Linked DNA regions of Homo sapiens: all the other regions are linked to region 3. Evidence: promoter capture Hi-C in human tissues and cell types (Jung and others, 2019). All regions are on one chromosome and are shown on one strand. The core of a region is centred on a gene start or on the middle of the fragment in contact, and the rest is flanking DNA. Distances in the headings are between cores, read along the strand shown.

Evidence for each region. Contacts are between HindIII fragments. The study calls those that stand out against the background at their distance.
Region 1: a fragment that was not itself captured here is called in contact with the fragment with the promoter of EFNA2 in region 3 in 3 of the 25 tissues and cell types used here (dorsolateral prefrontal cortex, heart left ventricle and lymphoblastoid cells).
Region 2: a contact is called between the fragment with the promoter of POLR2E here and the fragment with the promoter of EFNA2 in region 3, in 2 of the 25 tissues and cell types used here (H1 embryonic stem cells and mesendoderm cells).

Annotation. Positions count from the first base shown.
Region 1 is chr19:1,416,657-1,420,393 of GRCh38, reverse strand. DAZAP1 (DAZ associated protein 1) reads right to left here. Exons shown (of 12, transcript NM_018959.4): 2 at 2,854-2,894; 3 at 2,024-2,190; 4 at 1,663-1,728. Among named protein-coding and RNA genes, the nearest start is that of DAZAP1, 11 kb to the right of the region's middle. RefSeq lists an enhancer at 3,272-3,737. The HindIII fragment of the contact is 6,564 bases long and covers 1-3,737 here.
Region 2 is chr19:1,094,125-1,098,122 of GRCh38, reverse strand. It overlaps POLR2E (RNA polymerase II, I and III subunit E), which reads left to right and starts at 2,748. Exons shown (of 8, transcript NM_002695.5): 1 at 2,748-2,864. The coding sequence starts at 2,808. RefSeq lists enhancers at 2,715-2,804, 3,562-3,998. The HindIII fragment of the contact is 36,385 bases long and covers 1-3,998 here.
Region 3 is chr19:1,283,644-1,287,450 of GRCh38, reverse strand. EFNA2 (ephrin A2) reads right to left here and starts at 1,578. Exons shown (of 4, transcript NM_001405.4): 1 at 1,143-1,578. The coding sequence starts at 1,282. RefSeq lists enhancers at 1,493-1,993, 1,994-2,494. The HindIII fragment of the contact is 32,397 bases long and covers 1-3,714 here.

The DNA of each region.
Region 1 (3,737 bases), core at 798-3,297, 130 kb before region 3:
GTCGGGATGGTTTCATGAGTGTGCGCGTGGGGTGAGTGCTCGCCGCCGTGACGTTCGGGGTGGTTTCATGAGTGTGCGCGTGGGGTGAGTGCTCGCCGCCGTGACGTTCGGGGTGGTTTCATGAGTGTGCGCGTGGGGTGAGTGCTCGCCGCCGTGACGTTCGGGGTGGTTTCATGAGTGTGCGCGTGGGGTGAGTGCTCGCCGCCGTGACGTTCGGGGTGGTTTCATGAGTGTGCGCGTGGGGTGAGTGCTCGCCGCCGTGACGTTCGGGATGGTTTCATGAGTGTGCGCGTGGGGTGAGTGCTCGCTGCCGTGACTGTAGGGATGGTTTCATGAGTGTGCGCGTGGGGTGAGTGCTCGCCGCCGTGACTGTAGGGATGGTTTCATGAGTGTGCGCGTGGGGTGAGTGCTCGCCGCCGTGACTGTAGGGATGGTTTCATGAGTGTGCGCGTGGGGTGAGTGCTCGCTGCCGTTGACGATCGGGATGGTTTCATGAGTGTGTGCGTGGGGTGAGTGCTCGCTGCCGTGACGGTCGGGATGGTTTCACGAGTGTGTGCGTGGGGTGAGTGCTCGCTGCCGTGACGGTTGGGATGGTTTCATGAGTGTGTGCGTGGGGTGAGTGCTCGCTGCCGTGACGGTCGGGATGGTTTCATGAGTGTTTGTATGGGTCAGAATCATCAAGTGGTGCAGTTTACTACGTGCCCATTATATCTTAAGAAAAGCTAGAGAGACATTAATAACCAGATGGAATATGAACCTTGGATTCCAGTCTGAAAAAAACCAGCTATGAGAGACACTTGTGAAACAATTCTGGAGCTGGGAACACGGCCTGGACACAGATGACACGGGATTCCCTGCAGCCGCTTTCCAGCGTGCTGACGGTGGGTGCATGCGAGGGGTGGCCGTCATTTTAGGAGACGCACCCTCCGGTCCTTAGGAATGGTGTATGTGGACAGAGATGGATGTAAATACATATAGACCCCACCCTGCTGCCCACACTGTGGAGAGGCTGGCACCCGGTGCCTCAGCAGGCCTCCAGGTCTGCACTGTCCAGCACGTTCTATGGGGCTAAGAGCTTTCCCATCTGCACCGCCCCACCAGGCTCCTGGTGCCGGTGTGAGAACTGCAGGGCTGGAGGAAGGTGAGGTGTGGGTGGTGGTGAGACCCAAATGCCAAGGAGACCCCATGCCAGGACAGTGCCCTGTCGGCCAGGCAAGCACCAGGGCGCAGGTCAGAGAACCCAAGTTGCCACGTCAGGGGATCTCAAGTGGAGCAGTAAAGTGGCCAGCACGAGCTGACACAGCCCGGCCCAGCCCCGGCAGTGGAAGGATGGCCCACCTCTGAGGAGGGCCAGGCAGTGGGAGGGGGCAGGCCCGGCACAGAGGGCACACAGGGCACAGAGGGAAGCTGACTGGCTCCTGATAATCAGTGGCATGAGCTGTCATTTTTTTTTTCCCTAAGATAGATTAGTAAGAATTTTCTTGGCTGTAAAACACTCACGGCACTGATAAATCTGGGTGATCCTCAGCTGCTCGAGTGCCAACCCAGAAGACCTGCGTCGCCCTCAATCTTAACGAGCGACAACAGCAGATTGAAGGCACGCATTTCCTTTCCACGTGGAGTGGAGAACACACAAGGAGGCCGCCCGGCCCAGCCCCTTACCCATCCTTCCTTCGGCCGTGTTCTCTCCGGCTGCATCCCCCGGGGTGTGCATGGCTTGGGGTCGATCTGCAGGAAATTTCAAATCAGCTGGTTGTGAATAAGAGGCTGTTTCTCTAGGAAAGAGGGTGTCAGCACAACAGCAGCCACGGCACAGCAGCCCGGCCCGCCCCGCCCCGCCGGCTCCATTCACCCTGTATCCTCCTGCAATATCCAGCCTCAGCACCAAGGCTTAATCCTTCCCAATCGACCCCACGTTCAAACATACTCTAACGCAAACATCGGTCAGAGTCCAGGAAAAAATGAAGCAGAGGAAGGACAGGGGAGACAGAGAGCGGGTGTGAGCTCCCGGAAGGGCACTTACGTTTCGGCCATCTAGCGTGTGCGGTCTGCTGGCCAGCACCGTCCCCACACAGTTTGGGTCTTTAAATTTGACAAACCCAAAGCCTCGAGACTGGTTGGTGGTTTTATCTTTCATGATAACACAATCTACGACTTCTCCATATTGGGAAAAGTAGCTGCGCAGAGTCTCTGCTCAGAAATCGGGAAGAAAACACAAACACACAGGGCCAGAGCATTAGGCACGTGCCTGGCAGTGCTGCCGGCACGCACACTCCTCCAGTCCACCAGCCACGCACCGAGCGATGCTGCACTGGGGGTGGGGGGTGTACGGGAAGCGCTGGGGAATTCTGCCCAACACACACTTGAGGTCCTCACGTAAATCAGGGGCTGCCAGTGAGCACAGCAGTGGCCAGCGGTTACAACCTGACTTTGTAGGCGTCCAGGAAGGCAACGTTTAAGGCAAGGCAAACAAGACAACTCTGAATGCTGGCAGTGGCCAAGGAGCGCCGACTTTGCTACACACTCTTTCCTCCTATTCTGAACTCAGTAACAGCCTGGCCAGCCCCCAGCCCTCTGCACTTCCAGACAACAGCTGTCTGCCTCCACAAGCCACCTCAGCCCGGAGCTAGGAACCTGCAGCCTGAGGTCTTCCCTGTAACTTGGGATGGAAATACCAAATTAACAGTCTCAGAGCAAATACACACTTACTCTGTCCCCTGCCCAGAAATCAGAACAACGTCAAAAGGACTTTAAAATATCCAAGACAGTAGCAAGAGGCGGGCAGACACAACTTGAAGGCCGAGGTCCTAGAGCCCATCTGCAGTACCCACCTGACACCCCTTCCCCACCTACCTTGGGTCGTGCTCCAGTCAAGACCGCCCACGAAGAGCTTCCTGCGATTCAATGAGAAAACATTCAGGATCAAGACAGCGCTCGCCTTAGAAATGCCCCCATCCAAGCCAAGCTGAGGTCTTAATTCAAACCACAGAAGCAGCTGACGCAAACGTCCTTGTGCACGTGACGGCATACAAAGCTCACAGCAATGGCGAGTCAGCCTCGCCCATGCTGTCTGCAGACATGAAAGATGATCCCAATCCTTGCCATGGGGAGAGGACCGTGCCACAGAGCCGCACGCTGACCTCATGCGTGGCGGGCGATGAGTTCCTGGGACAGGCCAGTGGTGACGGCACCACGCTCACCTGCACTGCTGCCAAGTGGGACACAGGCTCGCTTTCCTACAGCTTTTGCGAGTATTTTATAATCAGGAAAAAGAATGTAGAAGTCTACATCTGAAATGATGCACAGTAAACTAGAAGCCTATGCCACACGGCCTCTGAATTACAGCCTGGGGCGGGGGTGGGGGGACACAGACAGAAGCCTCCCAATGAGCCTGCACTCACGAACTAACGAGAGGCCCACAGATGAAGGTGAAGGCCCTGAAGCTCCAGTCTCAGCACTGGCCCCACTTACTTACCCCCGACAAACCCGCGCCACCCCCATTCTGGGGCTGTCTCTTATTGGCAGATGAGAAGGGCCTGAAATTCAGTCTCAGCACTGGCACTTCCTGCCTGCCCCCACCAAAGACCCGCGCCACCCCCGTCCTGGGGCTGTCTCCTCCGGGCAGAAGAGCTGGAGCTCTCCCAAGGCGTCCGCCATCGACCCTGCAGCGACGCCCAAGGGCCCACTCACCTTTCCACCTCACTGCCGCTCCAGGTGGCCCCAGGGCCTTGGCTGTG
Region 2 (3,998 bases), core at 1,499-3,998, 190 kb after region 3:
CAGGAACACTCCAGGTGAGGCACAGCCCCAGAGCCTCTATCCTGGCTGTGCTGTCTGCCTGATACAGCTATCCCCAGGCAACCCCAGGTTTCCTCCCTCTCCTCTTCTGGTTTTTGTTTGTTTTCTGTTTGTTTGGAGACAGTGTCTTGCTCTGTCGCCCAGGCTAGAGTGCAGTGGCGCAATCACAGCTCACTGCAGCCTCAACCGCTGGGCTCAGGCGATCCTAGATCTTCCCACCTCAGCCTCCCGAGTAACTGGGACTACAGGTGCGCCCACCACGCCCAGCTAATTTTTAAATTTTTTTGTAGAAATGGGGTCTTCCTGGCCGGGTGCGGTGGCTCACGCCTGTAATCTCAGCACTTCGGAAGGCCGAGGCAAGCAGATGATCTGAGGTCAGAAGTTCAAGACCAGCCTGGCTAACATGGTGAAACCCCATCTCTACCAAAAATACAAAAAAATTAGCCAGGTGTGGTGGCTCACGCCTGTAATCCCAGCTACTCGGGAGGCCAAGGCAGGAGAATCCTTTAAACCCAGGAGGCGGAGGCTGCAGTGAGCTGAGATTATGCCACTGTACTCCAGCCTGGGCAACAGAGCGAGACTCGGTCTCAAAAAACAACAACAACAACAAAAAAGAAATGGGGTCTTCCTATGTTGCCTAGGCTTGTCTCAAACTCCTGGCCTCAAGGTGAGAAAGAAAAGTTAGGTAGTTAGATAAGAAAGCCTGCACAGACCGGGCGGGGTGGCTCACACCTGTAATCCCAGCACTTTGGGAGGCCGAGGCGGGCGGATCATGAGGGCAGGAGATGGAGACCATCCTGGCTAACACGGTGAAACCCCGTCTCTACTAAAAATACAAAAAATTAGCCGGGCGTGGTGGCAGGTGCCTGTAGTCCCAGCTACTCGGGAGGCTGAGGCAGAAGAATGGCGTGAACCCGGGAGGTGGAGCTTGCAGTGAGCCGAGATCCTGCCACTGCACTCCAGCCTGGGGGACAGAGCGAGATTCCGTGTCAGGAAAAAAAAAAAAAGTAGCCCCTGACAGCCCCCCAAAAAGAATCTCAAATATCAGTGTAAAAAAGTCCGTGACTTACAACTAAAAATTACAAAACTACAACAAAGGGATCCTCCCCTCTCAGCTTCCCAAAGTGCTGGGATTACAGGTGTGAGCTATCGCGCCCAATGGGATTTTTTTTTTTTTTTCTCGATGGAGTCTTGCTCTGTCACCCAGGCTGGAGTGCAGTGGTGCGATCTCGGCTCACTGCAACCTCCGCCTCCCGGGTTCAAGTGATTCTCCTGCCTCAGCCTCCCGAGTAACTGGGAGTACAGGCACCCACCACCAAACCTGGCTAATTTTTGTATTTTTAGTAGAGACAGGGTTTCACCATGTTGGCCAAGCTGGTCTGGAACTCCTGATCTCATGCTCTGCCTGCCTCGGCCACCCAAAGTGCTGGGATTACAGTGATGAGCCACCACTGCTAATGGGATTTTTGCTTGAATCTATCCTCACTGTATTCCCTGACCTCCCCATGTGATACTGCAGTTCTCCCATTCTCCCCATGTCACTTAGCCTCCCTGCTCTTTCTTCTTCCGTAGCTTTGTCACTTTCTAACGTTGTTATTTATTTTATTTTATTTCATTTCATTTTATTTTTGAGACAGAGTCTTGCTCTGTTGTCCAGGCTGGAGTGCAGTGGCACGATCTTGGCTCACTGAAACCTCCACCTTACAGGTTCACGAGATTCTCCTGCCTTAGCCTCCTAAGTAGCTGAGACTACAGGCACCTGCCACCTGGCCCAGCTAATTTTTTGTATTTTTAGTAGAGACGGGGTTTCACCGTGTTAGCCAGGATGGTCTTGAACTCCTGATCTCATGCTCTGCCCGCCTCAGCCTCCCAAAGTGCTGGGATTATAGGCATGAGCCACCGCGCCCGGCCACGTTATTTATTATATTTTACTAAATCCTGTCTTTATCTGAATGCAAGGGATACTTGGCCTGTTTTATTCACCATCACTGTAGGTTGCTGAGTAAATGTTGAATTAACGAATGCATCACTGAATAAGTTACTGATAGCCTGCACACAGGAAGTGTTGGGCTGGGGTTCTCCGTGAACCTGGGGAAGTGAGGAGGTTTGCAAAGACAGGAAGAGTCTGGGGTGGGGAGATACCCAGGCTAGGCTGGGGAGATACCCAGGCTAGGCTGGTGGCGCTCAGGGGAGAGGACAGAGGTGAGGGGACTTAATAAGCACCTAGAGAGATGCCTAAGACTCTCAGTTAACCGTCTAAAGTAGGGACACTTTATTGCCATTGCACAGGTAGGGAAACTGAGGCCCAAGGGAATTAACCCTGACCTGGCCAGGAGCCAATGGAGGAAACCCTGTACAGTTTGATGCACAAATATTTATAGAGTTCCCACTAGGCTCCCAGACCATCCCTAGGAGCCGAGCTGCCCCTTGACCCCATCCAGGCCTCAGTTTCCCCGCTCACACTTCGCCCCCGCCTCGTGGGATTCTAAACTGTTGCTCCAAGGTGGGAGTTGAACGGAAACTACAACTCCCGAGAGGCTGTGCGGCCAAAGACACACGAGAACTACGGAGGCGAGAGACTCGCTCAGCCAACTGCCGCTCTCGTAAGGCTCGGGCTGCCCTTGGCGCTGCCGATCCGAGACGTTGCTGCATTCAGGCATTCGCCGACGACAGACCAGCGCGGGGCGGGGTTAGGCGGAGGGGGCCTGATTCGGATTCGGCGCAGGCGCAGTCCGCGCGGGTTCTCGCGCGGAGAAGGGGTGCGAGCGGCGGCGGCGGCGGAGGCTGCCATGGACGACGAGGAGGAGACGTACCGGCTCTGGAAAATCCGCAAGACCATCATGCAGGTGAGCCGCGCCTGGTGTTGGGGGCGGGGGCGCGGGCGGCGGGTGTAGGGGCCCGAGGTGGGGTCGAGCACGGCGTCTCCTCGTACTCTCGTCGGAGCAGCAGCGATGAAGGGCCGGGCCGATACGGGAGGCCCAGAGGTCGCCGGGGATACCAGGCGCTGGACCCGACCTGAGCCGGCAGCGGGGAAGGGAGGGGGTTTCGAGACGTCTGGGTGCGGTGCTTAGGGGTGGGTGGGCGGCTTGGGCTGGTGCGGCGCGCGTGGCGGCGAGAGGAGGAGGAAGCCGCGAATGGGGACGGGGGGCGCCCCCAGACTCTGCCCTTCTCTGTGATTCAGCGTCGCTATTTGTCCTTGCGTCCTGAACCCCATGGAGTCTTCAGCATCCGAGGCTGGCAGAGTTGGTGGTTGGGAAGCAGCGGGCGAGCTGGGGCTTTCGATGGGGACGTGGAGCTCGGAACCCGTGCCTTGGGGTCTGGGGCAGATGGAGGCCACTGGGTCGAGTCCGGTTTGGAAGCCGGGCACAGGCCTGAGGACCTGCGGTTCAGGGTATTGCCTCAGCCATTGGGGCCGTTTGAGAGCTTTTGCTTTGTCTTGCTTCCCACCCTTTGCCCTTGTCCTCAGCGAAGCCCCCCGCAGCCTGATTCTTCTTTCTCCGATCCTCAAACATTGTCAGCCTGAAGTCACATCTGTTTCGGTCCCTGTCATTTTTTTTTTTTAAGAGATAGGGTTTCATTCTGTCGCCCAGGCTGCAGTGCAGTGGTGCAATCATAGCTCACTGCATCCTTGAACTGGCCTCCAGCAACCCTCCTGCCTCAGCCTCCCTAAGTACTGGGATCACGGGCGTGAGCCTCCGCGCCCCGCCTTTGTCCCTGCCTTTAGGGTAGCTCTGCAAAGTGGTTTGGAGGGCTTTGCTCCCTGCCAGGTTTCTGTGAGGCTGGGTGGACAGACGGTCTTGGTCAAGGCTGGACATCTCTGGGAGCCTCTCAGGATCATACTGGTCCCATCCTGTGGTGTGAGGCTGTGGGGGCCGGGGTGGCTGTCATGGAGCACACAGTGAGTGTTCATCCCGTTTGCTGTTCACCTCTGTCCTCTGCAGCAGCCGCAGGTCTGACTTCCGGGTCACGAGCTTTGGCCG
Region 3 (3,807 bases), core at 329-2,828:
GGCTCGGTCGGCACAGGAAGCGGCTGGAAAACGGAGAGAAAGTGACCAGTAGCAGAAGAGTGGGGGGGGGCCGCCTCAGCCCCCGATGTGCAGCTCCGTGTGCCTTAGGAAGACGGTGACACCCTGAGTGCTGGGGCTGACTCCCTCCCGAGCCCCAGGACCCCCAAAGCCCCGGCTCCCACGGGACCCCCAGGGAAGCTGCAGCCTGCTCCTGTCTTGGAGACCCTGGGATGGTTCAGAGGGTTCTACCCACGTCCAGGCCATGGCCAGGCCCCGGCAAACTTTTTTTGCTCTGACCAACGGGGGCTTCTCCTGTCCCCCACGTTGTGCCTGGCCCGGACCTGGTTCAAAACAAGGGGGCCTGCAGCAGGCGGGTGCGGCATCTCGGCCGGGCGTGGCAGGCAGGGCACTGGGCCACCTGGGTCCTGCCCCCAAGTCCCCCCCTTGCATGACCTTGAGCCAGCTCCTCATCCCCTCTGCACCTCAGTTTCCTGGTCAGCGCCCAGAGGACAAGAGAGGACTCCATCCCACTGCCCCTCCCGGGGCTGACCCCCAGCTCCCCGGCCCCTCAGTCTCCTTTCAAAGCTGGGCCCTTGGCCCCCTGGAGTGAAGCAGATGCTGGGTCCTGAGGGAGGGACACTCCAACTTCCCCAAGTTCATCTGGGGACCTGCGGGCAGGACGAACCCAGAGATCCCTCGAGGGCCACAGTCCCCCACCTCCGGTGCCAAGGTCCCCGGGGATCCCCACCAAATGCGAAACCGAGGGGGCTCCCCAGAGAAGCGGGTGGATCAGGGGTCCCCCCAAGTCCAGGCAGGCAACTCAGGGGCTACCCGGCATCGGAGGGTACCAGAGGGGTTCCCCAAACTCCAGGAGACGTCGGCGCTCTGGGGGATGTGGGGCGCGAGTCCCCACAGTCCGTAGGGCAATGGGGCGCCCCGGGGAAGGCAGGCGCGAAAAGGGCGAGTCCCCCAAACTCCGGGGGGCCGGAGCTCCCTGGGGGGCTCCCGCGGGAACCGGGCGCCCGCATCCCGGCGGCGGCGCGCGCGTGGGGGGCGCCCGGAGCTCCGGGGGCGCGAGGCCGGGCGCGGCTTGGGGGGCGTTGGGGGGTCCCCGGGCGCCCCCCGCGCGCGGCCGCGCTCACCTGGGGTTGCTGCGGTTCCAGTAGACGGCGTAGCGGTCCGAGTTGGCGCGGGCGGCGTCCTCGGCGCGCGCGAAGGGCGGCGGCGGCAGCGGTAACAGCAGGAGCAGCAGCGGGAGCAGCGGGCGCTGCGCGGGCGCCATGGCCCCGGTCCGGCCGCCGCGCTCGCTCTCCCGGCCGCCGCCTGCCAGCCTTCTCCGCCTCCTCCGCCGCCGCCGCCGCCGCCGAGCGGGCGGGCGGAGGGCGGGCGGGAGGAGGGCGCGGCGGCGCTTGGAGATCCCGGGCCGCCCCCGCCTCCGCGCGCGCGACCTCGGGCGCCGAGAAGTCAGGCGGCGGCGGGGCGGGGCGCCGGGGTCGCCCCGGGCGCAGGACCCGGCCGCGCGGACTGTCGGAGCGCGGGCCGCCGCCGCCGCACCCGCCGGGGAGGGGCCCGGGCTCCGGCCTTTGTCCCGCCCGAGCGTCGGGAGGGCCGCGGGCGCCCCCTCCCGCCGTGCCCCGGCCGCGCGGGGACTGGGCGGGGGTCTCCAGCCTGCGCCCGCCCCCTGCCCCGGCCCACCCCGTCTCAGGCTCGTCCCCCGGGGCCTGCCCCCAGCGACCCCGATTCTGCGCGCCCCCCGCCGGCATCCGCGTGGCCCGGCCTGGGGTCTCCGAGGGGCGGGGGCGCACCCTGCCTCCCGCGCCCCCACGCGCTCCACCCGGCCCGGCCCTGGGTCCCGGGCCTCTCACCTGCCCGGTTCCAGCGCTATCCGCAGCCTCACCAACCCCGACGCACGCGTCCCAAATCGGGCTCGGCCAACTCCAGTCTCCCTGCGGGGGCCGGGGCAGAGTTTCAGAGGGGCGCTGGCCAAAGTCCAAAGCTGCTCGGGCTGCGACCTCCCTGGGGCCCTCCTGGGAGTCGCCTCTCCGGACCCACGCTGTTCCCTGGGGATGGAGTAAGTCCCTACACCTCAGCCCTAAGGGTGCCGGGAGCATAGTAGGTGGACCGATGTGGAGTGTGAGCAGCTGGGGATGGGATCCAAGAAGCCCAGAGTGAAGCCCCGGCCGACAGCAAATCAGTCTCCACGCACGAATCCTGCAGGCAGGGGAGGGCCGCTGCCCGGGGGCACAGCTTGTGCAAAGACCCGGGGTCTGATCTGTTCAGGGAACGCCGAGTGATTTCTCCTCCTGGTAGGCTGACACAGGTGGGGAACTGGGGGCCTGGCCTCTGCTTTGTCTTTTTTCCAATCTATAGAGACAGTGTCTGGCCATGTTGGCCACGCTGGTCTTGAACTCCTGGGCTCAGGCGATCTTCCCACCTGGGCTTCCCAAAGTGCTAGGATTACAGGCGTGAGCCACTGCACCTGGCCTGCCCTCTGTTTTTGCCCTTATTCATGCCACAGCCTCCCTCACCAGACTCTGAGCTTGTGGAGGGTAGGCTGTCATCAAACGCTGGCTGGACTTTGCTGGCGATGCCCAGATCGTGTTGTACGTCTCTGAATTAGTGTCATTCACCAGGCCCAGTGCAGGAGAGGGAACTGCAGGGCAAGCACCAACAGCCCTTGGACCCGAAGGTCCCTGTGTGAGGCATTACCCAAACTCCTGGCAGGGACCGTGAACCCAGAGATGGGCAAGCTAACCTGTGCCCCAGCAAGGTGGGGTGGGGACCGGACCCACCACCGTCCCACAGCTCTGAGACGTGGTGGGCTCTGTCCTGTGTCTCCTGCGTGCCCTCCTCCCCCGATTCCCCAGCGGGCCACGCGGGCCACACCACCTGACCTTTGTTCAGGCTGGGTCCTGCTGGGAAGTCCTTCCACTTTTTCTTCCTGTTAAAATCTTGCTCTTCCAGAAAGGTCTGTCCCACCCAGTGCTCTAGCGTCCCTGCCAGGACAAGGTTCTCAGTTCTCTCTCCTCCAGGGAGCTCAGCCCGTCTGTTCTGAGCTCCAGGTCTCATCCCCTGACCCCACTACAGACGTCCCAGGTCGAAGGCCCAGGGCTGGCCGGGTGTCTCTTCAGTGGAGGGCGTGAACCTGTCCCAGGTGGTGGCTGAGGCAGGCCCTCTGGACAGGCTCTCTCAGCACCCCTGGAGTGAGGGCCTTGGGTTCTAGCCACACAAGGCTCTGTAGCCCAGACAGGCTGGAGAAGCTTCCCGGGCGGCTCCGTCTGGTGGGGGGCTCTTTTAGGGAGGGGGACGGCCACTCCCGGAGGTGAGCACTTTCGGAGCAGAGTGTGGCGGCTGCACCCAAGCACAGGACAAGGGGCCGTGAGCCTGGGGTCTTGGCGTGCCCGGCCCCAGCATGCCACCTGGCAAAGGTGGGAGTTCTGGAAGCTTCCTTCTACCCTGGGACCAGAAGCCCCCTCCTGCTTCAAGGGATCTCGTGGGTGAGGAGGGGTGGGCCAGGGTCGGGAGGAGGGGGTCTCTTCTCAAACCAGGACTGGGACCTGCACAGGTGGGAGCTGGAAGGGCACCACCTCCACCCAGGCATGGCAGGGCCACTCATTTGCATGCAGGGGCCACCGAGGCGAGAGCCGCCACCACCGCCACCGCTGAACGGATTTGAGCAGAAGCTCCGTTTTCCTTCTGTTCTTGTCTCTCTCAAGGTCAGAGCCCAAGCAGGGACGGGAACAAAGGCGGTGCGTCCCCCATTCAACCTCCCCGCGCCCGCTGGCCGCTCCTAGAGGAAGGACCTGG